Linked DNA regions of Homo sapiens: all the other regions are linked to region 3. Evidence: promoter capture Hi-C in 16 types of primary human blood cells and fetal thymus (Javierre and others, 2016). All regions are on one chromosome and are shown on one strand. The core of a region is centred on a gene start or on the middle of the fragment in contact, and the rest is flanking DNA. Distances in the headings are between cores, read along the strand shown. Region 1 holds the start of LOC124903874 (a long non-coding RNA gene). Region 2 has its middle 31 kb from the start of LACTBL1. Region 3 holds the start of WNT4 (Wnt family member 4).

Region 1 (4,941 bases), core at 2,047-4,546, 750 kb after region 3:
AGCCTTCATTCAGTGACACTTAAGCTGAGTCTTGAAAGATGCTAGGAGTTCACCAAACGCGCAGGTGGGAACACAGTTGTTCTAGGCATCAGGAATCGCAGGTGCAAAGGCCCTAGGGCAGGGATGTGTGGGCTGCATTCAGGAAACAGACAAGGCAAGTGTGGCAGAAGCAGAAGCGGGAGCATCAGGGGAGGAGGTTGGGAGGGAGGCTGGGCTAATTGTCAAGGGCCTTCCAGCCTTGGGAGTCTGGATTCGATTTAAAGTATGATCGGATGGCTCTGGAATTATGCAATCTGACTCAGATTCCTTTAAAGATCCCTGTAGCTTGCTGTGTGGAGAATGCATTCCAGGGAGACATGGAGACACAGGGAGCGCCTGTACAGGGCTCCCAGGGGACGCTAAGTGAGAAATGATGGTAGGTAGCATGGGCTGGGGGAGTTGGCAGTGGAGATGGCAAATGCCAGCAGAGTCTTTTTTTTTTTTTTTTTTTTTTTGAGACAGAGTTTCGCACTTGTTGCCCAGGCTGGAGTGCAGTGGCACAATCTCGGCTCACCACAACCTCTGCCTCCCGGATTCAAGCGATTCTCCTGCCTCAGCCTTGCAAGTAGCTGGAATTACAGGCATGCACCACCATGCCCGGCTAATTTTGTATTTTAAGTAGAGACGGGGTTTCTCCATGTTGATCAGGCTGGTCTCAAACTTCTGACCTCAGGTGATCCGCCCACCTCAGCCACCCAAAGTGCTGGGATTACAGGGGTGAGCCACCGCGCCCGGCCAGCAAAGTCTATATTTTAAAGCCCGGAGGACCCAGGAAATGTGAAGGGTGACTCCTAGGAGATGGAGGTGCCTTTTCCTGGGGCAGATGCAGGTTTGTGATTTGTAGGTGTGGTGCTTACTGGGGCAAAGGGGTTGGGGTTCAGGGAGGATAGAGAACAGCAGCCAGGAGAGTGTGCAGAGGAAGAACCAGAAGATAGGATCCTGGAGAATGCCAGGGTTTAAGGAGGGGAAGAAAGCGGAGTTGATGAAAATATTAGAGGAGGTGCTGGCAGAGGGGTAGGAGCAGAACCAAGAGTCATGTCTCTCCCTGACCTCTCAGACAAGTCTGTGATATGCCAGCCACCACCACCAGGAAGGGACAGCTAGGCTGCAGGTGGTAGGATTTATTCCAGCAAGTCCACAGCCGGCTGTTACCTAACACAGGAATCCTCCTTGTGTCTGCTATTAGATTCTTTCCTGAATGCTCCAGTCTTCCTAGGAAGGGAAGTCAGATACTGAGCCCTGCAGGCCTGTGTGGCCCCCACCTCCACCTCTTTCCCACTCCTTTCCTTCTTCAGAAAGGGCTCTCTAGGAGCGGGCCCTCCGTTTGGCCTTCCCCAAGCCCCACTGGGATTTCCCAGCCTGCCTGGAGTCCAGAGCTGACAACTGCGTTGCTAGATGGCTTCTGGAGGCCACTGATGAATGGCGGTGGCCTTGTGCAGACCCAGGCCTGGCTGCTTCCGTCAGTTCCAACGCCCCAGGGGAGGTGGCCTCCTTTGGCAGCTACCCCAAAGCACACAGGTTCAGGATCCCACTGGTCCCCCAAGAACTCAAGGAGAAGAGCCATTCATGAGGCCACCTGTGGTCGATGGCCCCTGGTAGCCCACATCAATTTTAGAATTTATTTAACAGAAAATGAAGAGGAAGGACATTCCAGGCAGAAGGAGCAAAGGTTGGAGGATGGGGGGTGAAACTATGAAAGTTCAGGCCATATTCAGCTTGTTGCCCAGTACCTGGAGTAGGATCTACCTGGAGAGGTTTGTCCACTCATTCATTCACTTTTGCATTCATCCATCCATTTAATGAACATGGGAAAGGGCTTACTCTATAATGGTTTTTTTGTTTGTTTGTTTTTTGGGGGTTTTTTTTGTGTGTGTGACAACAGAGTTTTGCTCTTGTTGCCCAGGCTGGAGTGTCATGACGCAAGCTCACTGCAACCTCCGTCTCCCGGGTTCAAGTGATTCTCCAGCCTCAGTCTCCCAAGTAGCTGGGATTACAGGCATGTGCCACCACGCTCGGCTAATTTTTTGTATTTTTAGTAGAGATGGGGTTTCACCATGTTGGTCAGGCTGTTCTCGAACTCCTGACCTCAGGTGATCCAGCCCTCGGCCTCACAAAGTGCTGGGATTACAGGCATGAGCCACTGCGCCTGGCCTCTATAATGGTTTTGATGATAACAGTGATGGTGGGAGCCAACATTTATTAAGTCTTTTTATGTGCTAGAGACTGTGCTAAAAAGCTTTACCTGTATTTTCCTTTTAAATCTCCAAAACCACCTTTTATGGTACCTACTTGCATTAACCCACTTTAGAGATGAGAAAACTGAGGCCTGGAAGGCTTAAGACATGCACCCAATGCCTCACTGGCCCTAAGCTACCAGGTAAGTGCTCAGACTAAGGACTAGTGGATTTCATACTGAATCTCTTCCCATCGTCCCTTGGTGCTTAATCACTGTTCAGATAAAGGTACCCCAGGGAGAGGAGAGACCGAAGGGAATTGGCGTCTCTCGGGCATCTCCAATGTGCCAGGCACTACCTGATCAAATTTTATCTTCACAACAGCCCTGAGAGCTTGGCATTTATTGTTCCATTTATTTGGAATAGAAAACAGGGGCTCAGGGAAGTGAAGGGTCTTTCCCAAGGTCACAGTGCAATCAAGTGAAAAAACAAGGATATGAAGCAGCTTCCAGCTGGGTACAGTGACTCATGTCTGTAATCCCAGCACTTTGGGAAGCTGAGACGGGTGGATCATTTGAGTCCAGGAGCTCCAGACCAGCCTGGGTAACATGATGAAACCCTGTCTCTACCAAAAATACAAAAATTAGCCGGGTGTGATGGTATGTGCCTGTAGTCCTAGCTACTAGGGAGGCTGAGGTGGGAGGATCGCTTGTGTCTGGGAGGTCGAGGCTGCAATGGGCCATAATCGCGCCACTGCACTCCAGCCTGGGTCACAGAGCAACACCCTGTCTCAAAAATATAGTCAGACAGAGAGAGACAAAAATGAAAAATGAAACAGCTTCCAATCCCTTGCCCAGCTTTAATGAAGGGAGCTGCTCAGGTTGGTTCCTCACTCTCATGAGGCACCTATGGAACCAGCAGCCGCCTCTCATCTCCCTCACATAATCAGGGGCTTAAAACCTCCAACATCTCTAAGTGGGCACCCACCCAGTTTACAGAATCTAACCTGTTTTCAAGTCTGAGCAGAGCCCATGTTGTACAGTGGCACTTAGTGTCCATGTCTGGTACTGCATCCCAGGTTTTGTAGATTTTTGAATACCAGTTTAATGTTCATTCATTATGTCAATAATTAGTGAACACTTACTGTGTGGCAAACCTGGGGGGATCCAGAGATGAGCAAGACATGGTCCCTGGCCTCAGGAAATCCACATCCTTAAAGAAGATGGACAGGTATATTAGGACAATAGGTGGGAGGGGAGACAATTTGGACCCACAACCCCTGGCTGGGACATCTGGGAAGTCTCCCCAGCAGAGGTGGCACTTGCGCTGAGTCTTGAACGATGAGTAGGACACTGCAAGACAAGTGAGGAAAGGGTATTTCAGACAGGGGCAACAGTGCTTGCAAAAACTCAAGAGTGTCCATGGAAGGTAGAGTTGCTAGATAAAATAGAAGACACATGATTACATTTGAATTTTTTAAAAATAAATGTTTTAGTACAAATATGTCCCAAATATTGCACGGGGCGTACTTATACCAAAATGTATTTGTTGTTCATCTGAAATTTAAATTTGACTGAGCAGCATCCTATATTTGTGTTTGCTAAATCTGGCAGCTCTACCAAGGAAGGGGGAAAGAGTTAGGGATGGCAGGAACCTAGGAAACATTAGGGATGTTGCAGGAGAGACTGCAAAATGGTGGGTCATGAAGGGTCTGGAATGCCAGGCTAAGGAGTCGGCCTTCACCCTGTGGGCACTGGAGAAGGACTTTGTGTGAGGGACCCCAAACTTGGTACAGGGGAACAAACACAAGCCCTCCCTCATGGGCTTAGAGTTAAGGGGGCGAGAGGAGCCTCAGCTGGAAGTTGAGGGGGCATAGCAGAAACCCCCTCCTGTGGCACCCACAGCAAGTGCTCTGGGACTGAGAAGGAAGAGGTGCATCTGGCTGGGATGTCAAGGAGGCTTCCTGGAGGAGGAGGCAGATGATCTGGCTTGGCAAAAGAGACTTCCTCTCTGCTGCTGCCCCACCCAGCTATCCCTGCCTCCCCCTGTTATGGGGGTGGTAGAGACACATCTTCAAGTCAGCCCCCTTCATATCCCCTACATCCCAAGCTTTTTCTCCTCTCCTTTCCTCTGAACCTGCTGCCCCTTCTGCCAGGCATGCACATCTTTGTCTGGGTGGTTCCTGTTTGTTCTTTGAGATCCCATTCCAGTGACCCCCACTCACGAGGGAGCTTTCCTGACTTCACCTGGTAGCCCCTGATATGGTTTGGCTGTGTCCCCGCCCAAATCTCATCTTGAATTGAAGTTCCCATAATCCCCACCTGTTGTGAGAGGGACCTAGTAGGAGGTAATTGAATCACGGGGGTGGTTACCCCCATGCTTTTCTCATGATAGTGAGTGAGTTTGCACAAGATCTGATGGTTTTATAAGGGGCTTTTCCCCCTTTGCTCGGCACTTCTCTCTCCTGCCACCATGTGAAGAAGTATGTGTTTGCTTCTTCTTCTGCCATGGTTGTAAGTTTCCTGAGGCCTCCCCAGGCATGAGGAACTGTGGGTCAATTTCACTTCTTTCCTTTATAAATTACCTAGTCTTGGGTATGTGTGTATAGCAGCATGAGAAGGGACTAATGCAGCCCCCGTCCCAGACCAGGTCACATGTCCCTCGGTATGTGCTTACCCTATCAGTGTGAGCCTGTTATACCTATTGATTCATTTTATTATCTGAACAA
Region 2 (4,802 bases), core at 1,661-4,160, 800 kb after region 3:
TTCCATTGGTCTATATCTCTGTTTTGGTACCAGTACCATGCTGTTTTGGTTACTGTAGCCTTGTAGTATAGTTTGAAGTCAGGTAGCGTGATGCCTCCAGCTTTGTTCTTTTGGCTTAGGATTGACTTGGCAATGCGGGCTCTTTTTTGGTTCCATATGAACTTTAAAGTAGTTTTTTCCAAGTCTGTGAAGAAAGTCATTGGTAGCTTGATGGGGATGGCATTGAATCTATAAATTACCTTGGGTAGTATCACCATTTTCACGATATCATTTCCCTCTTAACAATTCATAGAACAACAGATGGAAAATCATGAAGGATACAGAATTCAATACCTACAACCAACAGGATCTAATCGGCATCCAACAATCCACCCAACAATAGCAGAACACACATTGTTTTCAAGCACCAATGAAATATATACCAAGATAGACCACACCCTGAGCCACAAAACAAACCTCAACAAACTAAAAAAACAACTGAAATCATACAAAATGTGTTCTCTGACCACAGTGGAATCAAACTAGAAATCAACAGTATAGAGATAACATGAAAATCTCTGAACCCTTTGAAACAAAGCTATACACTTATAAATAATTCATGTGGTCAAAGAATAGATCTCAAAAGAAATTTAACAATATATTTACTTTAATGAGAATAAGAATACTCCATATTAACACATGTGGGGCATAGCTAAAGCAGTGGTAAGAGGGAAATTGATAGCAATAAATGCTTACATCAGAAAAGAGGAAGCAGTCCTCCCACCTTAGACTTCCTAATAGCTGGGACCACAGGTGTGCATCACCACACCCAGCTAAATTTTTTTTTAATTTTCTAGACACAGGGTCTCACTATGTGGCCTAGGCTGGTCTCAAACTCCTGGGCCTTGGCCTGTCAAAGTGCTGGGATTACAGACATATGCCATTGTGTCTGGCCTAATTCTTGATATATTATCCTGCTCCACACTCATAAATGCAAAGGCTCAGTGCAGTTTACATCAGTGCTGTTCATGACTCAATTTCGGTTGGGTACCTCATAACTGTTCCAGCTTTCTCTTGTCGTGTAATAAAGAACTTCAATATTTACTGGCCTAAAACAAACAGTAATTGCATTATCAAATCAATAATCTAAGTTCCCATGTCAAGAATCCAGAAAAAAAAATCTAGGAAAAAAGGAACACAATAAACTCAAAGCAAGCAGAAGATTGAAATAATAAAATAACAGCATAACATTAAAAACAGAAAAGCAAGAAAGAAAACCAATGAAACAAAAAACTGGTTTGCTTCACTGTTTCAAAATTGACAAACTTCTAGAAAGACTAACAGGAAAAAAGAGAGAAGATATAAATTATCAATATGAAGAATGAAACGGGATGTCACTTTAGGCCCTGCAGATATCAAAAAAATAATAAGAGAACACTATGTATAACTCTACAGACATAAATTCAACAATTTTGATGAAATAGACCAATTCTGGGAAAAGCCAAAACTACCACAACTTGCTCATATTGAATAGCCCCATAACCATTTAGGAAATTGAATTAACAATGTTTTTTAATTACCAAAAAAGAAAATCTCCAGAGCCAGGTAGTTTCACTGGAGAATACTACCAAGTGTTTAGAGAAGAATTAATACCATCTACACAATCTCTTCCAGAAAATAGAAGAGGCAGAAACACTTCCCAATTCATTTTATGAAGCTAATATTATCCTGATACCAAAACCAAACAAAGATAATATACAAAAAAAGAAAGAAAACTACAGACCAATATTCCTCATGAGTATAGATGCAAAAATTCTTAACAAAATATTAGCAAATAGAAGTCAGCAACATATCAAAACAATTATATACCATTGAACAGACCCAATTTTCTCAGAACTGATGTTTACAAGTGTTTTTAATAAGATAGAAATTGACCCTTCCAGTCTTGAAGCTTGAGAAACTTACATTTTTCTTATCTGAGTTCCTTTCACAGGAAATTGGCTATCAGGGAGCTGAAACTTTCCACATCACTGCATCTGGACGGTGAGGTGCCAGACCCCTTATCTGACTCCCTGATGCCTGTTGACCAACTCCTATATAAACCCCTAACTTTAGTTGGTTGGGGAGAGAGATTTGAGACTTGTCTCTCATCTCCTGGCTGACATCACCCACAATAAAGCCTTTCTTCCTTGGCAATACTCGTTGTCTCAGTGATTGGCTTTCTGTGGGTGAGAACTGGACCTAGGTCAAACCCCTGGCATTCAGCAACAAAATTCTGGTGTCCTGACTTGGATTGCATTGCTTGTGACTTGGCAGCCACAGGCTGGGAGAGTTTTGAAAACCCTTCTAGCAGATGCCCAGCCATATTTGGCCAGAGGTTTCAGTCTCTCTCTCTTTGGCCCCAACTGCAGTCCTGATTGCCTAGGAAGAATATTCTTTGAAATTTGACATCTGCATCTGGACAGGTGAGTGTCCTTTGTGGGTACTAGACAGTAGGAGCTGCTCCTGTCAAATTGGGAAATTCTGAAGAATTTCCATTTGTTGCAGGTTAAACAAGCCCAACCCACTAATGTGAGAGTGGAAAGCACTCTATTTCAGTTCAGACACTTTGGGGGCTTGTTAATCACTACTGCAGTTAGATTGATTTTTGTTCTGTTTTGGTTTGAGACTGAGTTTCAGTCTGTCACCCAGGCTTGAGTGCAGTGGCGTGATCTTGGCTCACTGCAACCTCCACCTCCTGGGTTCAAGTGATTCTCCTGCCTCAGCCTCTCAAGTAGTTTGGACCACAGGCATGCACCACCATACCCAGCTAATTTTTGTATTTTTAATAGAGACAGGGTTTCGCCATGTTGGCCAGACTGGTCTCGAACTCCTGACCTCAAGTAATCCACCTGCCTTGGCCTCCCAAAGTGCTGAGATTATAGGCATGAGCCACCACACCCGGCCTAGATTGTATTTTGATAAGTGTTTGTGTGTGTGTGTGTGTGTGTGTGTGTGTGCGCGCACGTGCGCATGTGTGTACGTGTGTGTCTATTTCCTGCACCTTCTTTAAACTTTTGGTTTGAGGGACTCCCTTCCTGAGCCCCACCAGAAAACAGTCCAGAACCCCTGTTGATCAGCTTCCAGCTGGGGTCATGGAGGGGCACTGCCAGACTGTAACCAGTCCTCACCCCATTATTAGGATCTTCTGTGTGTAACCGATCAGCCTTTTCCTGAGCCTTTTCTAGCACTGTATGACACTCTTCAGATGTCAGCAAGACTTTAAGGAGGCTCTGAACATCAGCCCATGTAGGGCCATGAGTCATGAAAATAGACTCAAAGAGGTTAGTTATACATTTCAGGTCATCCCTATAAGCAGGTTTGGTCTGCTTACAATTATGTAAGTTTGCATCATTCCAGCGGGCTGTCCTTCTTCAGCTAAACCCCCAACAGGGACCTGTCTCAGAGGGAACTGCCCTGTAGAGAAGGGTAGCAGAACCCAGCCAAATTGTGTCCCCTGATGGGTCCAAGAGGATGAGACCATTTCTCTGGAGTTCCCAGATGTCTCCTTGGTGAAAGGAGAGAGCAAAGGAAAATATGGGGGAAGACCTGGCAGAACTCAGGTACGGGTCCTGGGTCCATAAGTGAGAGGGCTAGCAGGAGTCAGGAAAGGGTTTTGCAGGGTTTGGAAGTCTCAGGGGTTGGGGCCATCAAAGAGGCTGAAGCTGACCCCAAGGCAGCTGGTGGAGAGTGCTGAGATGGCTGGGCTGGGGTTATAGAAGTTGTAGTAGGCTCTAAGGAGAATTCTTCTTTGCTGGTGACATGGGGATCATAGGGAAAAGTGCAGACTCACCACCCTTCTTAAAAGCCTCCATCCATTGCATCAGAATTTTACATTTAACTTGATTGGTTTGTTCTGATAAAGGAGTATAAAAGCTTAGACATCAGGGATTTCATCCTACTTTCCCATTTGATAGCAAAATGAAACTAGTTGTAAGATATAATTTATCAATTTTGAATAATTTACTCAAGCAGGCTGCATTCTGGGGTTGAATTTTGTTTTATTATTATTTTTTGGGGGGAGGTCAAATTTTGATTTCCCATGACTATATCTAGACAAGAAGTGGATGAGAACCCATTAGCATTTTGGAAAGAATTTTGGAGGCTTATCAGAAATATACAGATGTAGGCCGGGCACAGAGGCTCACACCTGTAATCCCAGCACTTAGGGAGGTCAAGGCAGGTGGATTGCTTGAGGTCAGGAGTTCGAGACAAACCTGGCCAGCATGGTGAAACCCCGTCTCTACTAAAAATACAAAAAATTAGCTGGGCATGGTGGTGCACGCCTGCAGTCCTAGCTACTCAGGAGGCTGTGGCAGGAGAATCTCTTGAACCCAGAAGGCAGAGGTTGCAGTGAGCCGAGATCGCACCACTGCACTCCAGCCTGGGTGACAGAACGAGACTCTGTCTCAAAAAAAAAAAAAAAGAAAAAGAAAAAGAAAAGAAAGAAAGAAAAGAAAACAAATATACAGATGTAGATCCGACAGTCCTAAGAATTCCATGTTAATTAATGTGAACTATTTTGTAATACGCAGATGATATCTTGATAGCCAGTGAAATGGAGGGTAACTCCATCCTCCATGCCATCAAAGTCTTAAATTTCCTGGCAGATAAAGGGTACAAGGTTTCTAAGAAAGAGGCATAGATCTCTCATCCCACCATTCAGTACCTGGGATTCAAGGGACTCACAATCTTCTCCCAGATCACAGAGGCAATAAATCAGGTGGCAGTCTCCAGTATCCTTAAACAACTACGTGGTCCTTTAGGGATGCCTGGATTTTGTC
Region 3 (5,020 bases), core at 961-3,460:
CACCCCACCCCCAACAGCACAGGCAGGAGAACTGAGTTGTTGGAATTCCCCACAGTTTGCATGATCCAAAGCCGAGGCTGCCTTCCTGGCTGGGATTCTGGGGGTGGACATGGGTGAAGGTGAGTGGTGATGCCACCGGGCCATGCTGGCTCCACTTTGGGACAGCTTCAGGGAAGGGGGTATAGGGTCACTGCCTGGGAGTCAGAACACCTGGGTTCAGTTCTCAGCTCTGAGTTTGGGCAAGTAGCTTCCACTCCCTAGGCCTCAGTTTCCTCATCTGAGTCAAAGATGAGATGTTCCTGAAGGACTTTCCACTGCAGATGTCGCTGTCTTCCATGTAGGCCTGGGCCAGACGCTTGGACTGCCACTTTTTTTTCTTTGTTTTTTGTTTGTTTGTTTGTTTTTTGTGGCTTTGGCGGTGCTGGGCAGGTGAGACACAGTTCTTGCTCCTTCTGATGCTCAGATCTGTTTTGGAGGCCCCCGCTCTGAACCCATGCATTCAAGAACCAGCTCCAGGGACACCCAGGGTCCTCCAAGTCCAAATCAGCTCCCTCCCCAGCTCTGTGACCCAGGCTCCATTCAGGGGGTGGCCTGCAGGGGGGCAGTGGGAGAAGGTGGTGGTGCCTTGCTTTCTGTACACTCTGCCACTGCTCCTGAAGTGTTAATCAAATTAAGGCTCCAAGAAAAACAAAAGCTCCGCAGCCACTTCGGGCTGCCTTGGAGTCGTTTGCTCTCGGAACAGCTGGGAGAATTCCACATCACCTCCGTCCCCCAAGCCCTGGGTGGCTCTGACCCCAACGAACACACTCCTTCCAGCCTGGAGGGCTCTGGCTGGCCACAATGACCTCATAGCAACAGCCATTGGACACTCGGGGCAATTTCATGGGAGATATTTGTTCTTTGGTCTTGATGCAGAGAGAATTTTTTCCTCTCTCCCTGTCTCCATGGAAACCCCAGCTACACTGTTGGCGATCCCCCTTCCCACCCCATGCTTTTCAGATCAATATTGGAGCTTGGCTCCCCACTGGCTGCCCACAGCGGATGGTGGCAGAGCTCTGGGCAGGAGGAACTGGGGCCAGGGTTAAGCGCGGGGCATGGGGAACTGTCCCTGAGCGGGGATGAAAGGAGCGCGGGTCCGCTTGCTCCCTGTCCACCCACTCACTGGAGCTCATCCCTTTAGTCTCCCTCCCTGCAGCAAACCTTCCGCCCCTACCCAGGGAGCGCCCTGAGCGCAGATCCAGTCAAGGAGAAACAGACAGGTCACCAGCGGTTACCACCCCTTCCTCCTTAGGCTAGACACGGGGAGCTGGGGGGCCGTTGTCTTCTTTAAGGTCTGGACGGAGTTTCTTCCTGCCCCGGGGAAAAACCAAGGCCCGGCCAGCGCCAGCGCCAGCCCCGGGCCCTGGGAGACCAGGCGTCCTGGTCCCTTCCTTCTGTCTCCGGCTCCCGCCCCCCAAGCAGAAACAGGTCCCTGCACGCCTCCAGCCCAGCCCGCAGCGCGGCGCAGCTCGGCGCAGCTCGGCGCTGGGAGCTCGCTCCGGACTTCTCGGGATTAACCTGCTATTATGTCCCGGAGCCCTTCCCTGCAATGGGCTTCCTCAGCGACCTGTCAGCCCGGCTGGACTGCAACCCGCGTCCGGCGCCCCTCCCGGGCCACCGCCCCGCGCTCGCACCCCTGGCGCCCTCGAGAGCCCCGAGCCGCCTACCGGTGCGGACGCCGCCACAGCCACCCCTGACGCCTCTGGGCAGGGAGCCGGACCCGGGCAGGAGGGGACCCCGGGTGTGCAGAGGGACGTTCGGGCCGTGGCGGCGGCAGCGGAGCGAGCGAGCCTCCGGTCCCGCGGCCGAGACACCTGCCGGGCTGCCCCGCGCCCGCTGCCCCGCGCCGCCTGGCACCGGCCGCTGCCCCCGGGGCCTGCCCCGCCCCGCCCCGCCCCGCTCGGCCCCGGCCAGACTTACAGCCAGTTGCTCGCGGCGGCTGAGAAGACGGCGAAGACGAGGAGGCGCAGCGAACGCAGGCACGAGCGGGGACTCATGGTGCCGCCGCGGGCGCCCGGCCCGGGGCAGCGGCTGCGGCCGCGGGGGGCCTCCCGTCGGGGCTGCAGGTGGGCGCCCGCGGGCGGGCCGGGGCGCGCGCGGCGGGGCTCTGCCTCCGTGTGCCTGCCGGCAGCCTGCCCGCTGCTGCGCCCGCTGCCCGGCGCGGACCAGACTGTCAGCGCCGCCCCAGAGCCGGGATGCGGCGGCGGCGGCGGCGGCGGCGGCGGCGGAGGCGGGCGGGCGGGCGGGCGGCCGGGGGGGCGGGCCGGGGGCGGGCCGAGGATGGGGTTACCTGGGCGGGCCCAGCGGCCCGGGACACCCCCCCGGGGGCGGGCCGGAGCGGCGGCGGCTGCCGCCTTAGCCCGCGGGACTGGGCTGCTCCCGGGGCCTCCCCGGCTGGGCGCTCCGGAGGACTTGGGGCCCGAGCCCGCTCCAGGCACGCCTGGCTGCGCGCCGCCGAGCCCGGCCCGGCTAGAGGCGCGGCGACCCAGCTGCCCGGCCGCCGCCCGGGCCTAGGGGACAGGCGGGCACAGCTCCCCCAACCCGCCGCTGCGGGCACTGCAGCGCGGCCCTCGCTGTCCCCCTACCCCCCCCACCGCCCCCCGCCGGCGCCTGGAGCCCAGACCCCGGTCCGACCGCGGCGGACCCACCGGAGCGCGGCTACCACTCGCGCGCACCCAGGCGCTGGCGCTCCGGGTGCCTGGGGCTGCACATCGGGGCGCTGGATGTCTCCCGACCGCCCCCCGCCCGGCCCCTCCCTGCCTCCTGGCCCCCGCGTCCTGCGGCCCAGCCCCTCCCTGGCGCTCACCTCCCTACAGCCTTCCGGGAGCTGGACGGGGCCTCCCCAGCTTTGGGCAGCTTGGGACAGTGGCCCGAGACTGTGGGAATCCGAAACCTCGCTTCTGGCTAGCCACAAGGTCTGGGCGCGCCCCAGGCAGCAGGGTCTTGACTCTGAGCCTCCGTTTTCTCATCCGGGAAGTGGGCTTAAGACGCTGTGATTGGGAGGACAGGAGGAGTTTAGGGAAGCTCTCTTGGCTCACTCACCAAGTCTTACTTTGCATTTGGTTTTCTATGTGCTTGTTCGATTTATCCTCCCATACTAGGCAGATTCAGCCTCTTGTTTGTTTTGGGCACAGGGCGGTGCCTGCCATGTTTGTGGAAGGAATAAATGAATGGAATGGAATGGGCTGCAACAGCCTGTGCTTGGCTAGTCCAGAGAGCTCAATTCCACATCACTGTAACCCCTAAGAATTGTCTGCCCAAGTCCACGCCACACCCTCTCAGGTCACTGATCTGATTCTGTGTGCTACTCATCCTCCAGGCTGCATCCCCCAGCTGCTCACAGGTAGAGGGACCTCTTATCTAAACAGTAAAACTAAGGCCCGGAAAGGGAGGCACCTGTCCCACCTCCCTAGGGGTTGGGAACAGAGGCAAGGACCAGGTCTATGCCCTCACCCCCTGATCTTAGTTCTTCACTGATTTTGGAGTATGAAGTTTGCTCCCACAGAGGCCATCATGTTTGGGTGCTGGGATGGTGCCCTGGGGTCCCCTGGGCTCAGAACAGAGGAAGGGCTCAGTAAACATTTGGTATTGGGACTGGGTGGAACGTGGCAGGGATTTGTGGGGCTGGGCAAGAGTATAGATGGAGGTTCACATACCATATGTCCAAATATTTGCAGGCTATAAATCAAGCTAACAAAATGCAAAATAAATTATGTTCTATTCTTCTATCTTGACAAATACACTTTCCTAACAAGGCAGAAAGCTGGCTTTGAGTGTGGCATTCTCATACTCCTCAGACCTTGCCCTGGAGCTGGTGGCACAGGGAGAGGGGGCCCCTAGTGCCTGGCCTGGGCCCCTGCCCCCTACCTTTTCCTACCTCTGCCTCTGTCCTGTCCTTCGAGAGTCTTGTGCACATTCATGAACATCTCAGCCTGCACATGCAAGCTCAGCCCCTTGGTAGCCCCTCAGGCTTAGGGCTGGGCACGCCAGTGGTGTACTCTGTCCTCGGGCTGGATCTGCGGAAGAGACCCACGCAGGTCCTGGCAGTGGGCTAAGGGCCATCTCTGCAGGGAACCCCAGGGGCCTGGGCACCCAGAGTATGCTCTAGTGGAGGTGCCACAAGTTCCAGGTGGGCATGTCCCCTTGTCCCATGGTCTTCCCTCCTTGTGATGAGAGGTTAGCTGGAGGAGGGCCAGACTGGGGGGGTCCCCAGGGCAGGGGCCACTCTCACCTGTGTTTAAGGGTGGTACTGAAGTGCTGACCTATTTTGAACCAGCATATTCACTTCCTGGAGACTCAGTATGGTATGGTGGAAAATAATAATAACAACGATAATAATTTAGATGGCAACAGGTAATTATGTTAGGATGGCCATATAATTTTCTTCCAAACCAGGATGTTTTCAAGAGTGACGGGGGGCTCTAACTGGAAGATTTGCCAGGCTACCAGGCATAGACCAAGACTGTGCCAGGCCACCTAGGATGCACTGTGCCACTCAAATGTTGTGCCCTGGTATGTCAGGCACTGTTCTTAGTGCTTTACACGCTTTGACTCATTCAATCGTTGCAACAAATCTAGGAAGTACGTACTGTTATCACCCTCATTTTACAGATGAAGACACCAGGTTACTTGCTTAAGGAAAGTGGTGGACCTGGGACTCCAGAGCCACATCCCCGGCTCCCATACCATCCTGAGCCTGGGACTCAGGTGTTTGGGCTTAAGCCCCTGTCCCAAAGCACATGACACTTGACCTTTGGGAAGCTGCAGGACCTTCAGTTTCTGTATCCATCAGGTGGGAACAATGTTACCTGGCTTGCCTTCTCCTGGGGTGCTGGGAGATGCATATGAGTGGGTGTGTGTGAGCCCCACGAGCAGGATCAAGCTGAGCCCAGGAGGGAGAGAACTGGAGCCATCAGAAAGTGTCTCCCTGAGCTGTGCTGTGATAATGGAGAGGAGGAGCCCTTTGCTCTGAGTCAGTGGA

Evidence for each region. The method cuts DNA at HindIII sites, captures the fragments that hold promoters and counts their contacts. A CHiCAGO score of 5 or more calls a contact.
Region 1: a contact is called between a fragment that was not itself captured here and the fragment with the promoter of WNT4 in region 3, in 1 of 17 cell types (M0 macrophages). The highest score is 5.6, in M0 macrophages.
Region 2: a contact is called between a fragment that was not itself captured here and the fragment with the promoter of WNT4 in region 3, in 1 of 17 cell types (M2 macrophages). The highest score is 6.8, in M2 macrophages.

Annotation. Positions count from the first base shown.
Region 1 is chr1:22,886,150-22,891,090 of GRCh38, forward strand. All of the region lies in intron 6 of EPHB2 (EPH receptor B2), which reads left to right. LOC124903874 (a long non-coding RNA gene) reads right to left here and starts at 3,411. Exons shown (of 3, transcript XR_007065534.1): 1 at 3,358-3,411. RefSeq lists a silencer at 3,363-3,568. The HindIII fragment of the contact is 2,047 bases long and covers 2,274-4,320 here.
Region 2 is chr1:22,939,426-22,944,227 of GRCh38, forward strand. No RefSeq gene overlaps it. Among named protein-coding and RNA genes, the nearest start is that of LACTBL1, 31 kb to the right of the region's middle. The HindIII fragment of the contact is 1,964 bases long and covers 1,929-3,892 here.
Region 3 is chr1:22,140,887-22,145,906 of GRCh38, forward strand. It overlaps WNT4 (Wnt family member 4), which reads right to left and starts at 2,211. Exons shown (of 5, transcript NM_030761.5): 1 at 1,960-2,211. The coding sequence starts at 2,036. It overlaps LOC105376845 (a long non-coding RNA gene), which reads left to right and starts at 67. Exons shown (of 5, transcript XR_947050.1): 1 at 67-119. RefSeq lists silencers at 1,679-1,738, 2,301-2,630. The HindIII fragment of the contact is 11,467 bases long and covers 1-5,020 here.